Linked DNA regions of Homo sapiens: region 2 is linked to region 1. Evidence: promoter capture Hi-C in 16 types of primary human blood cells and fetal thymus (Javierre and others, 2016). All regions are on one chromosome and are shown on one strand. Each heading gives the region's core, a stretch centred on a gene start or on the middle of the fragment in contact. The rest is flanking DNA. Distances are from core to core; before and after follow the strand shown.

Evidence for each region. Contacts are between HindIII fragments. The CHiCAGO score rates a contact against its expected background, and 5 or more counts as called.
Region 2: a contact is called between a fragment that was not itself captured here and the fragment with the promoter of C7orf33 in region 1, in 2 of 17 cell types (activated CD4 T cells and naive CD8 T cells). The highest score is 6.1, in activated CD4 T cells.

Annotation. Positions count from the first base shown.
Region 1 is chr7:148,589,368-148,594,299 of GRCh38, reverse strand. It overlaps C7orf33 (chromosome 7 open reading frame 33), which reads right to left and starts at 3,534. Exons shown (of 3, transcript NM_145304.4): 1 at 3,171-3,534. The coding sequence starts at 3,374. RefSeq lists a silencer at 177-377. The HindIII fragment of the contact is 1,806 bases long and covers 2,786-4,591 here.
Region 2 is chr7:148,635,985-148,641,175 of GRCh38, reverse strand. It overlaps the pseudogene LOC643438. Among named protein-coding and RNA genes, the nearest start is that of C7orf33, 48 kb to the right of the region's middle. The HindIII fragment of the contact is 2,277 bases long and covers 2,755-5,031 here.

The sequences.
Region 1 (4,932 bases), core at 2,285-4,784:
AGAGGCTGAGGCAGGAGAATGGCACGAACCCGGGAGGCGGAGCTTGCAGTGAGCCAAGATCGTACCACTGCACTCCAGCCTGGGCGACAGAGCGAAGACTCTGTCTCAGAAAAAAAAAAAAAAAAAAAGAAAAGAGGTTTAATTGGCTCATGGTTCTGCAGGCTGTACAGGAAACATGGCGTCTGCTCGGCTTCTGGGGAGGCCTCAAGGAGCTTTCACTCATGACGGAAGGCAAAGTAGAAGCAGGCACATCGAACAGCAAAAGTGAGAGCAAGAAAGCAAGAGAAGGTGCCACACACTTAAACAACCCGATCTTGTGAGAACTCACTCACTATCGCAAGGACAGCACCAAGAGGATGGCGCTAAACTATTCATGACAAATCCACCCCCATGATCCAATCACCTCTCATTAGGCCCCACCTCCAACACTAGGGATCACATTCCAGCATGACACTTAGCCGGGCAAATATTCAACCATGTCACTTCTTTTCCAGCAGGCATCTCTCTGGGCTCTGACCCTTTCCTGTCAATCCCAGTTGGGAGTCTCCGTTTCTACAATCCCCTCCAAACAGGCTGTATCCCCCGACCCTGGCTTCATGCTCAGCCTTTCCTAAATGCATTAAACACCCAGTCAGAGGAAAAGCATTTTGACTTCAAATTAACATTTAAAATAAAAACTAACTTTAAAACATGTTATTATGAAGGCAATAGAGATTCTCTATTTAAAGAAATTCAGGCCAGTTGCAGTGGCTCACACCTGTAATCCCAGCACTTTGGGAGGCTGAGGCAAGCAGATGATTTGAGGTCAGGAGTTCGAGACCAGCCTGGCCAACATGGTGAAACCTCGACTCTACTAAAAATACAAAAAAATTAGCTGGGAGTGGTGGCAGGTGCCTGTAATTCCCGCTACTTGGGAGGCTAAGGCAGGAGAATTACTTGAATCCAGGAGGCGGATGTTGCAGTGAGCCAAGATTGAGCCATTGCACTCCAGCCTGGGTAACAAGAGCAAGACTCCATCTCAAAATGAATAACAAAAATAAAGAAATTCAGAACATTCTGAGCTTTGGAAAAATAATACGTAACTCATAGTGCCATCCATAGACAACCACTTTGAGACTTTGCTGTATCTTCCAGTGATCTAATTAGATTTAAATCGTGTCGGCCAGGCATGTTGGCTCATGCCTGTAATCCCAGGACTTTGGGAGGTGAGGTGGGTGGATCACTTGAGGTCAGCAGTTTAAGACCAGCCTGGTGAACATGATGAAACCCTGTATCTACTAAAAATACAAAAATTAGTAGGATGTGGTGGTGGGTGCCTGTAATCCCAGCTACTGGGGAGGGTGAGGCAGGAGAATCATTAGAACTCAGGAGGTGGACGTTGTAGTGAGCTGAGATCGTGCCATTGCACTTCAGCCTGGGTGACAAGAGTGAAACTCCATCTCAAAAAAACAATAATAAAAAAAAGATTTAAATCATATCTACCCTGCTGGGGCACAGTGGCTTCCACGTGAAATCCCAGCACTTTGGGAGGTTGAGGCAGGCAGGTCACCTGAGATCAGGAGTTTGAGACCAGCCTGGCCAACATGGTGAAACCCTGTCTCTACTAAAAATACAAAAATTAGCTGGGCATGGTGGCGTGCACCTGTAATCCCAGCTACTTGGGAGGCTGAGACAGGAGAATCGCTTGAACCCAGGAGGCAGAGGTTGTAGTGAGCCAAGATCACGCCACTGTACTCCAGCCTGGGCGACAGAGCTAGACTCCATCTCAAAAAAAAAAAAAAAATCCTATCTACCCTATATGCTCCACCCATGCACTTGTGGCATCCTTTAAAAGGAAGGTTTAGGCAGTGATAATCTTTTCTCACCTTCTTTTAAGCACATATACGTCATTGATTATCATTTATATTCATCATTCAGAGACTAATTGTATTGGTTCACATCAAAGTACCCCTGGCTGAGGAGGTATTTTCTTCTTTTTACTCTTCTTATGCTAAATGGGCTTTCCCTGACATGGGCTGTCTGCATCTGACCTTAGCAGCAGGCAGACACAACCCCCTTGCTGACCCTGCAGTTCATGCTGCTGTTCTCAGGGAAAGGTCATGAAATCCTCTCTGCCCTCGAATGACCAGAGTCATTCTTCATATCAGAAGATACTCTGAGCCTGTGGCATGTGTCAGTTTGGGGCACTGTGCCACAATGAGGGTGTGGGCAAATGGGAAGAAGCCAGGAACTGCAACATGGGAGAAAACAAATTAGGGCTGGAGAACTAGGTGGGGACACCTGTGGTTCCCATCAAACTGAACACCCAAAGCTGGAGATAAATACAAAGTGGGAGCTCATACTTTAACCAAAAATGCCTGCCTAGTGGGAGGCAGGGGCTTGGGGATCAGGAGGTGTCAAAGATCAAAGACAGGCAAAGAGTTAAGGATCCAGGTCTTGCTGGGCATGGGTGGCACTTCGGGATGTTGAAGTGGGAGGATCGTTTGAGGACAGGAGTTCAAGACCAGCCTGGGCAACATGGCAAGACCCCATTTCTACAAAAAATAAAAAAATTAGCTAAGCCTGATGGCACATGGCTGTAGTCCTAGCCACCCGGGAGGCTCCTCTGGGAGGATCACTTGAAGCCAGGAGGTTGATGCTGCAGTGAGCTATGATTGTGACACTGCACTCCAGCCTGGGTGACAGAGCAAGATACTATCTCTAAAACAACAACAACAACTCCTGGTCTTTAAAGCGAGAGAAGAGACAAGAATCTAGGCAAGGAGAAGGGAACAGGTGCAAAGCTTGTGCCAAAGGGTGACCAAGATAGAGGCTTCCTGTGGACCCATCTCCAGGGCAAAACATAGTCTGAGAACAAGCGCATTCCTTCTACCACACTGTGTGAAAATATACAATTTTTACGCTGGAATTTTTCAAATCAACATGACTCAGGCTAAACACAAGAATACTCAGTGGAGTGTTTTGTGAGGATTCTTTTCCCTAAGAAGATTCCAGGCCTTCTTTGGGGCAGTGAATTAATCTCTGTCTCTCTCTTTACTTCAATGTCGTTAAGCCCAGTTCCATAACACATAGTAGAGAGTCAAAAACATTCATGGATTGAGTGAATGAATTCTCAAGAGATACTGACTGACTCAAAGAGCAGTTGATTCATCTTAGAATCATTAACTTACCTTATGTCTTCCCGTGGCATATGACAAGTTAAATTGACCTGGACCGCCCCTAACGTGGACCCAAACAGCGACTGCCCTCCCACTCAGGCGAAGGTCAATCCGGCGCCTTGCCCCACTGGGCAGGAGGGCTTCACATTCACATTGGGGGCCTGGAAGTCTCCAGGGACACTCTTCAAGGCTGAGGCTTTGAACTTCCACTTGCATTTTGGCAAAGGTAATTACCTTTCCTGGATGCTGTCAAGGAGAGCGGCGCTTCACCACCAATATCTAAGATCAAGTCGCACGGATCCCCAGGGTCAGTAGGAGGATTCAGACACAGGCTGGGCGCCTCGCTCCTGACCACTGGATTGGCATCACCATAAGTAAGGTCACAGCTGAGTAGAAAATGCCTGAGGCAAAGTGGGGGTGAAAGAGGGGCCACCGAGCAGTGTGATAGGCAGCCCCTTCCGCCAGCTCATTATCCCCACCTGCTCCTGTCGTCTCCTATTAGAATCCTAATGCGAGTTTACGGAAAGTCAGCTGGAGCTTGTCCTCCATGTAATTCAGATCACGTTGCCTGCAGCTCTTAGGTACTCAAATAAACAGAAGGACTAATATTACTACTGAAAAAGTAATTAAGGGCATTCATTGTAAAGTAATAATGATTACCTCACCCTCACCATATGGCCAGAACTGATTAACACCTAGAAGAAATGATCTAAAACCTCTACAATCAGAATTAATGTCTCAGGTCATAATGAGAAACATTTTGTAGCGGGGTTTGGCAGGGAAGGATGAAAAAGTGGTTGGGAGTTTACTAAATCAAGAGGCACAAACAAAATATTGAGGATAACATCCTTTTTCAGGATTTTTCATCTCATTCAGATTAGACAAGTTGCATTTTTAGTGTAGAACCCATATCACAAATGCAAAAAATATTACAAGATTTACACATTGGAATTGTCACTTAATTGGATGAGTTTTTCCTCCATTGTTTCTTTTATAATGATGAGGAATTGATGGAAGAATCTCCATCGAGGCTGGCAGTTTCTTAAATCACCAGGGAAGGGCTTAGCCCACTGATTGAAAATCTTCTTATCGTAAATTACTGGTTAAAATGCTATTTGTTGTCAGGAGTATCATGGAGTGTGATTTAATCTCTTAAGATTAGTTAAAGTGGTAGAAATGTTAGCATTTCTGGGTAATGCCAAACAGGTTAGCATTACAAAAGATGCCTAGAAAGATACGGACCCATTTGGAAGACAAGGTTGCTGTAAAAGCCAGTTTGCAGGTGCACCGTGGGGGGTGACAGGATGCCCTGGGCTGTTCTTGATTAGTGCGTGTGCCCTAGGGTCATGTGGTGAAGCATAAGGAAGCAGAATTTGGGATATTTTTCCCACCAGAATCCCTAAGATTACTCTGTGTACTGCTGGGGAAAAGCTTAATGGGCTCAACACCACCCTTGAGGGAAGGCAATAATGGAATCTCTTTTTTCTGCAAATACTTCCTTGGGTGGTGCATCATGATTCCCTGAGGCAGGATTTCCTGCAGCAGAGCTGGAGGGGCTGGAGGGGCTGGTGGGGCTGGTGGGGCTGGTGGGGCTGGAGGGGCCAGAGGGGCTGGTGGGGCTGGTGAGTCTAGAGGTGCTGGAGTTCCAAGAACTTGGCCTGGAATCTTGAACCTGCAGCCATACATTCGGACTCTAGCTTTGCCTTTTTACTTATCTGTCTTTGACCACTAAAGAAATAGACAGACCTCATAATATTATTTCCTCGACTGCCTC
Region 2 (5,191 bases), core at 2,644-5,143, 47 kb before region 1:
GGCTATGATTGGCTGAGCTTGTTCACACTTGTGGCCAGGGGTTCTCTACCTGGAAGCTCCATCAGACCTATAGTGGAGAGAAGTCGTACTCCCAAGGCAGGGGAAGGCAAAGGAATGTGAGGATGCGGGATGAACAAAGCAACCGATGTCTTGCTCAAAAGGAATGGGAGAGAAAGTCCCATCCAGAAAGCAGGACAGCTTAGAGGACAGGGCATTTGTGAAGGACTTTGAAGGATGGGAAGGGTTCTGATGAACAGAGATATGAGATGGAGATAGGAAGGGAATGCATATTCCAAGCAGATAAATTTGGTAGGGTTGAAAATGTTAATTTGGAGTCATATTAAGAAACTTGAGGCTGGGTGTGGTGGCTCACGCCTATAATCCCAACACTTTGGGAGGCCGAGGTGGGCAGATCATGAGGTCAGGAGTTCGAGACCAGCTTGGCTGACATGGTGAAACCCTGTCTCTATTAAAAATACAAAAATTAGCTGGGCATGGTGTTGGGTGCCTGTAATCCTAGCTACTCAGGAGGCTGAGGCAGGAGAATCGTTTGAACCTGGGAGGCAGAGGTTGCAGTGAGCTGAGATCGTGCCATTGCACTCCAGCCTGGGCGACAGGGTGAGACTCTGTCTCAAAAAAAGAAAAGAAAAGAAAAGAAAAAAAATTTGAGAAGGCTGGGCGTGGTGGCTCATGCCTATAATCCCAGCACTTTGGGAGGCTGAGGTGGGTAGATCACTTGAGGTCAGGAGTTCAAGACCAGCCTGGCTAACATGGTAAAACCCATCTCTACTAAAAATACAAAAATTATCCAGGCATGATGGTGGGTGCCTGTAATCCCAGCTACTCCGGAGGCGGGGGTCGAGAATTGCTTGAACCCAGGAGGTGGAGGTTGCAGTGAGCCGAGATTGCGCCACTGCACTCCAGCATGAGCAACAGAGTGAGACTTCATCTCAAAAAAAAAGAAAAAAAGAAATCGGAATGAGGAATTGTTATGGGCCAAATTGTGTCTCTCCACCATTGCCCCACCAAATTCATGTGCTAAGATTGTAGCTCCCAATTCTGCAGAATGAGACTGCATTGGGAGATGGGGTCTTTAAGGAGGTAATTAAGTTAAAACGAGGCCATTGGGGTAGGCTGTAATTCCAGGTGACTGGTGTCTTTCTAAGAAGAGGAAATTGGGACACGGACAGATACAGAGGGAAGGCCATGAAAACACACAGGGAGAAGACAGCCATCTGCAAGCCAAGGATGGAGGCCTCAGAAGAAACCAACCCTGAAGACCCCTTGGTCTCAGCCTCCAGAAATGTGAGAAAATCCATTTCTGTTGTTTAAGTCACTCAGTCTGTGGTACTTTGTTATGGCAGCCCCAGCAAATGAAGACAGACATCTTTTCTTATTTTGGATGCAATGGATACCCACAGAAACTTTTTAAAAGGGGGGATTAGGTAACTAGACTTACGATTTAGGAAAATGGATCTAACAGTGGTCTCAGGGGTGGGTAGAGTCTGGAGGTGGGAGACCAGTTAGTAGACTACTGCAAAAGTCTTTAGAAAGGTATATGAGGCTGTTAGCTTGGATAGTAGCAATGAGGTTGAGAAGAGACTGGGATTGTGGCAATGATTATAGAAATGGAATTTCAAGACTTGGTTGCAAATTGAATATTGGAGGAAAGGAGAGGAGAGAGTTAAAGATGCCTTCAATTTTTATGACCTGTTAACTAGGTGATATGGTTTTGCTGTGTCCCCACCCAAATCTCAACTTGAATCGTATCTCCCAGAATTCCCGTTTGTTGTGGGAGGGACCCAGGGGGAGGTAAGTGAATCATGGGGGCCGGTCGTCTTTCCCATGCTATCCTCGTGATAGTGAATAAGTCTTATGAGATCTGATGGGTTTATCAGGGGTTTCCGCTTTTGCTTCTTTCTCATTTTCTCTTGCTGCTGCCATGTAAGAAGTGCCTTTCGCCTCCCACCATGATTCTGAGGCCTCCCCAGCCGTGTGGAACTGTAAATCCAATTAAACCTCTTTTTCTTCCCAGTCTTGGGTATGTCTTTATCGGCAGCATGAAAATGGACTAATACACTGGGAGAATGAGGTAATAAAAGAAGGCTCTTTTTTTATTTGTTTTTAATTTTTGAGACAGAGCACTGCTGTGTCACCTAGGCTGGAGTGCAGTGGCACAATCATAGCTCACTGTAGCTTCGACCTTCTAAGCTCAAGCAATCCTCCTGCCTCAGCTTCCTGAGCAGCTGGGACTACAGATACACACCATCACACCTGGCTAATTTTTTAATTATTTGTAGAGACAAGGTCTCACTATGTTGCTCAGGTTGGTCTCGAACTCCTGGGGTCAAGCGATCCTCCTGCCTCAGCCTCGCAAAATGCTGGGATTACCAGTGTGAACTGCTATGCCTGGCCAAGAGGGCTCTTTTGATGACTGACAAAAATGCAATCAAACTAGCTTATGGACAAATGGAATTGGTTACTGCTCTAATAGTGAGACCCAGGGTCTTGCATCGGGCTTTGGACGCTCCTGGTCCTAGGCACTCGGGGGCTCTGGTTTGCTTTTCTTTGGGTGCCGTGCCTTCCTTCTGAAGCTTCCATGTGGCCAGGGAAGACAGCCGCAGCATCTTCACAGTTCATGATCTAAGACGACTCCCTCTCGTCTCCATATGCCAAATCCCACTTAGGGCAGGTGCTTACTCCTTGGCCCTATCACTGCGGACAGGAAGATGGGGTACCACTGATGGTGAAGCTTTGGTTTGCGTTCCCTCCATTTAGGCCAGGTAGGAAATTTTGATTGACAGTTTTGTAGATCTCCGGTGAAAACAGAAATGCAGGGCAGACAGAAACAGTTGATATCCACCCCACTGGGTTTGGATTTGGATATTTTATTAGGCTGGTGCAAAGGAAATTTTTTTTTTTTTTTTTTTGAGGCAGTCCCGCCCTGTTGCCCAGGCTGGAGTGCAATGGCCCAATCTTGGCTTACTGCAACCTCCACCTCCTGGGTTCAAGCGATTCTCCTGGTAATTACTTTTAATGGCAAAAACTGCAATTACTTTTGCACCAGCCTAATATTTTTGGACATGCCAATATCGAGTAAAGGATGGGGTGCAGGGAAGAAATGGTAAGAGTTCATTGACAATGTGGTTTCGAGCTCAAGAGAGAGGAGTTACCCACAGAGAGGCTGTGACTAAAGCCATGGTAGTGAGTACATTTCCTGAAAAAGAGAATAGCCATTGGAAAGAGGTTGGAGGATGGACTGAACATTAGGGAATTTCTATATTTGGTAAAGAAAAAAGGAAGAAAATACAGGAGTAGTCAGAGAAGGGCAGGCCATCCAGAAAATAGAAATTGATGGAAGCCAGTGAAGGAGAAGGTTTCAAGAAGGATGGAATGTTGGTAGCTTTCAGAGGTGAGAACTGAGAAAAGACAGGGATCATTAGGTACTTAGGAGATCACTGGTGACCTCCTCATGGCTTTGGGGGCGCGGGTCAGTGTCATTAAAAATGGTTACTTTTTTTTAAAGACAAAGAAATTTTATCGCCATAAATTAATCCAGTAGGTATATCTGAGAAAGCACACATCAGTTGGTTAGAGCAACAAGCGCCTCTACCACGTTGCCCATGTGTTCCCGCAAGCCGCCTTCCGCTGCTGCTCGAGATATCTCCATCTCGGTCATTACCAGCTCCAGATCTTCCTTCTTGATACTGCCTATTGCCAGTTCTTTCTTCCCTTCCTGTTTGGCTTTCTGCTCCCGGGACCTTCTGTCTCCAGTCACAGACATGGCCGTCTCCAGATTGGAACTCTGATCTCCTTCTCCTCTGCATAGTCGGTGACCCGCTCCAAGTCCGCCGCACTGCTGTCAGTCATGTTTCCGTGGCTTCTCGGGAGGCCGCTCTGGGCCACGGGTCTCAGTCTCTAACTCCAGCTCCACATCCCCCTCGGTCGCCGCATCTATTTCACCACGCCGCCGCATAAGCCCCACCTCACGGCGACAAATAAAAGGTTACATTTTTTAAAAAACCTACATTTTTAGGGGCGTCATCAGCCATAAAGTTTATGGGCAAGGTGAGACATTTGGATGCAGACTCAGAAAGTTTGAATTTATTGGCACTTTAATAAATAAATGATGAACTCTTTTGTGTATCTGCAGTTGGCTTATGAGGAAACTGAGTCCCAGAGAGGGGCAATGACTTATACAAGTTTTCCATGGGGCCTGGTGGAAGACTAGGACGGTCAACAGCAGCCTGGAGAGCCTGGAGTCTGCGTCAATATGCAACCCTAGCCCTGCACGCTGGGCGTTTGCCTGAGGTTTCCAGTGCACCGGAGGCGCGTACTCGTCTGCCTAAGAGGGTGAGGAGGGTGAAGGGGATTGATGAAGCAGGTAACCATGGCCCTGGAGAGGCCATCCTCATTGAATGGGGACCACTGTTACTCAGCTCAGCTGATCACTGCCACATGGGAATGAGGCCCTAGGATTGTCCAGATGTGATTTTCTAAGGGAAGTTGGGAATCTGAAGTTGGGAACGTTTATGCGAACTTCCCCACTCTTTCCATATTGGCAGCTAATTTAAAAACATAAAACCACTGTGTGAGTAAACAGGTTTGTGGGTTGGGCTGCCAGTTTATACCCTCAGCTCTGTATGTGAGGAATAGGGGCGGGAAAAAAAACAGCCAGGATGTGGAGAAAAGATGACATAAAGAGGCTCCACCTACAGTTCAATCTGGCAAGAGGCCTGGGTGTCAAAATTGTTCCTGAGGTCCTGAAAATCTGGACACCTCTAGTATGTCAGCACAGAGTGTGTGACTTTTAAAGCCACCAGTGGTCTGGATCTTAGTCTCCTCTTACCTTACACAAATCTGGAAAATTCTTTAGTGATTGCTATTTATTCCTTTTGTTTTATTTCTTTTATAGTATTATTATTTTCTTTATTCTTTCCTTCTATTTTGAGAACTTTGGTATTTTCCTTTTTGAGTGAAAAATACTATGGATTCTGGATTAAAATAGCACAGGAGAAGTTGAAATAAGCTTTTGTCAGTTTTGCAGATATGGTTATTGCTATGACATCTCATTCATTCAAGTCTTTATTTTTGCCTATGTACAAGACAATGTGTTATAACTTGCAAGGTGTAGGAAATGAATAAGAACAACCTGTACCCATATTCTTGAGGCATATAATTAGGAACTGGA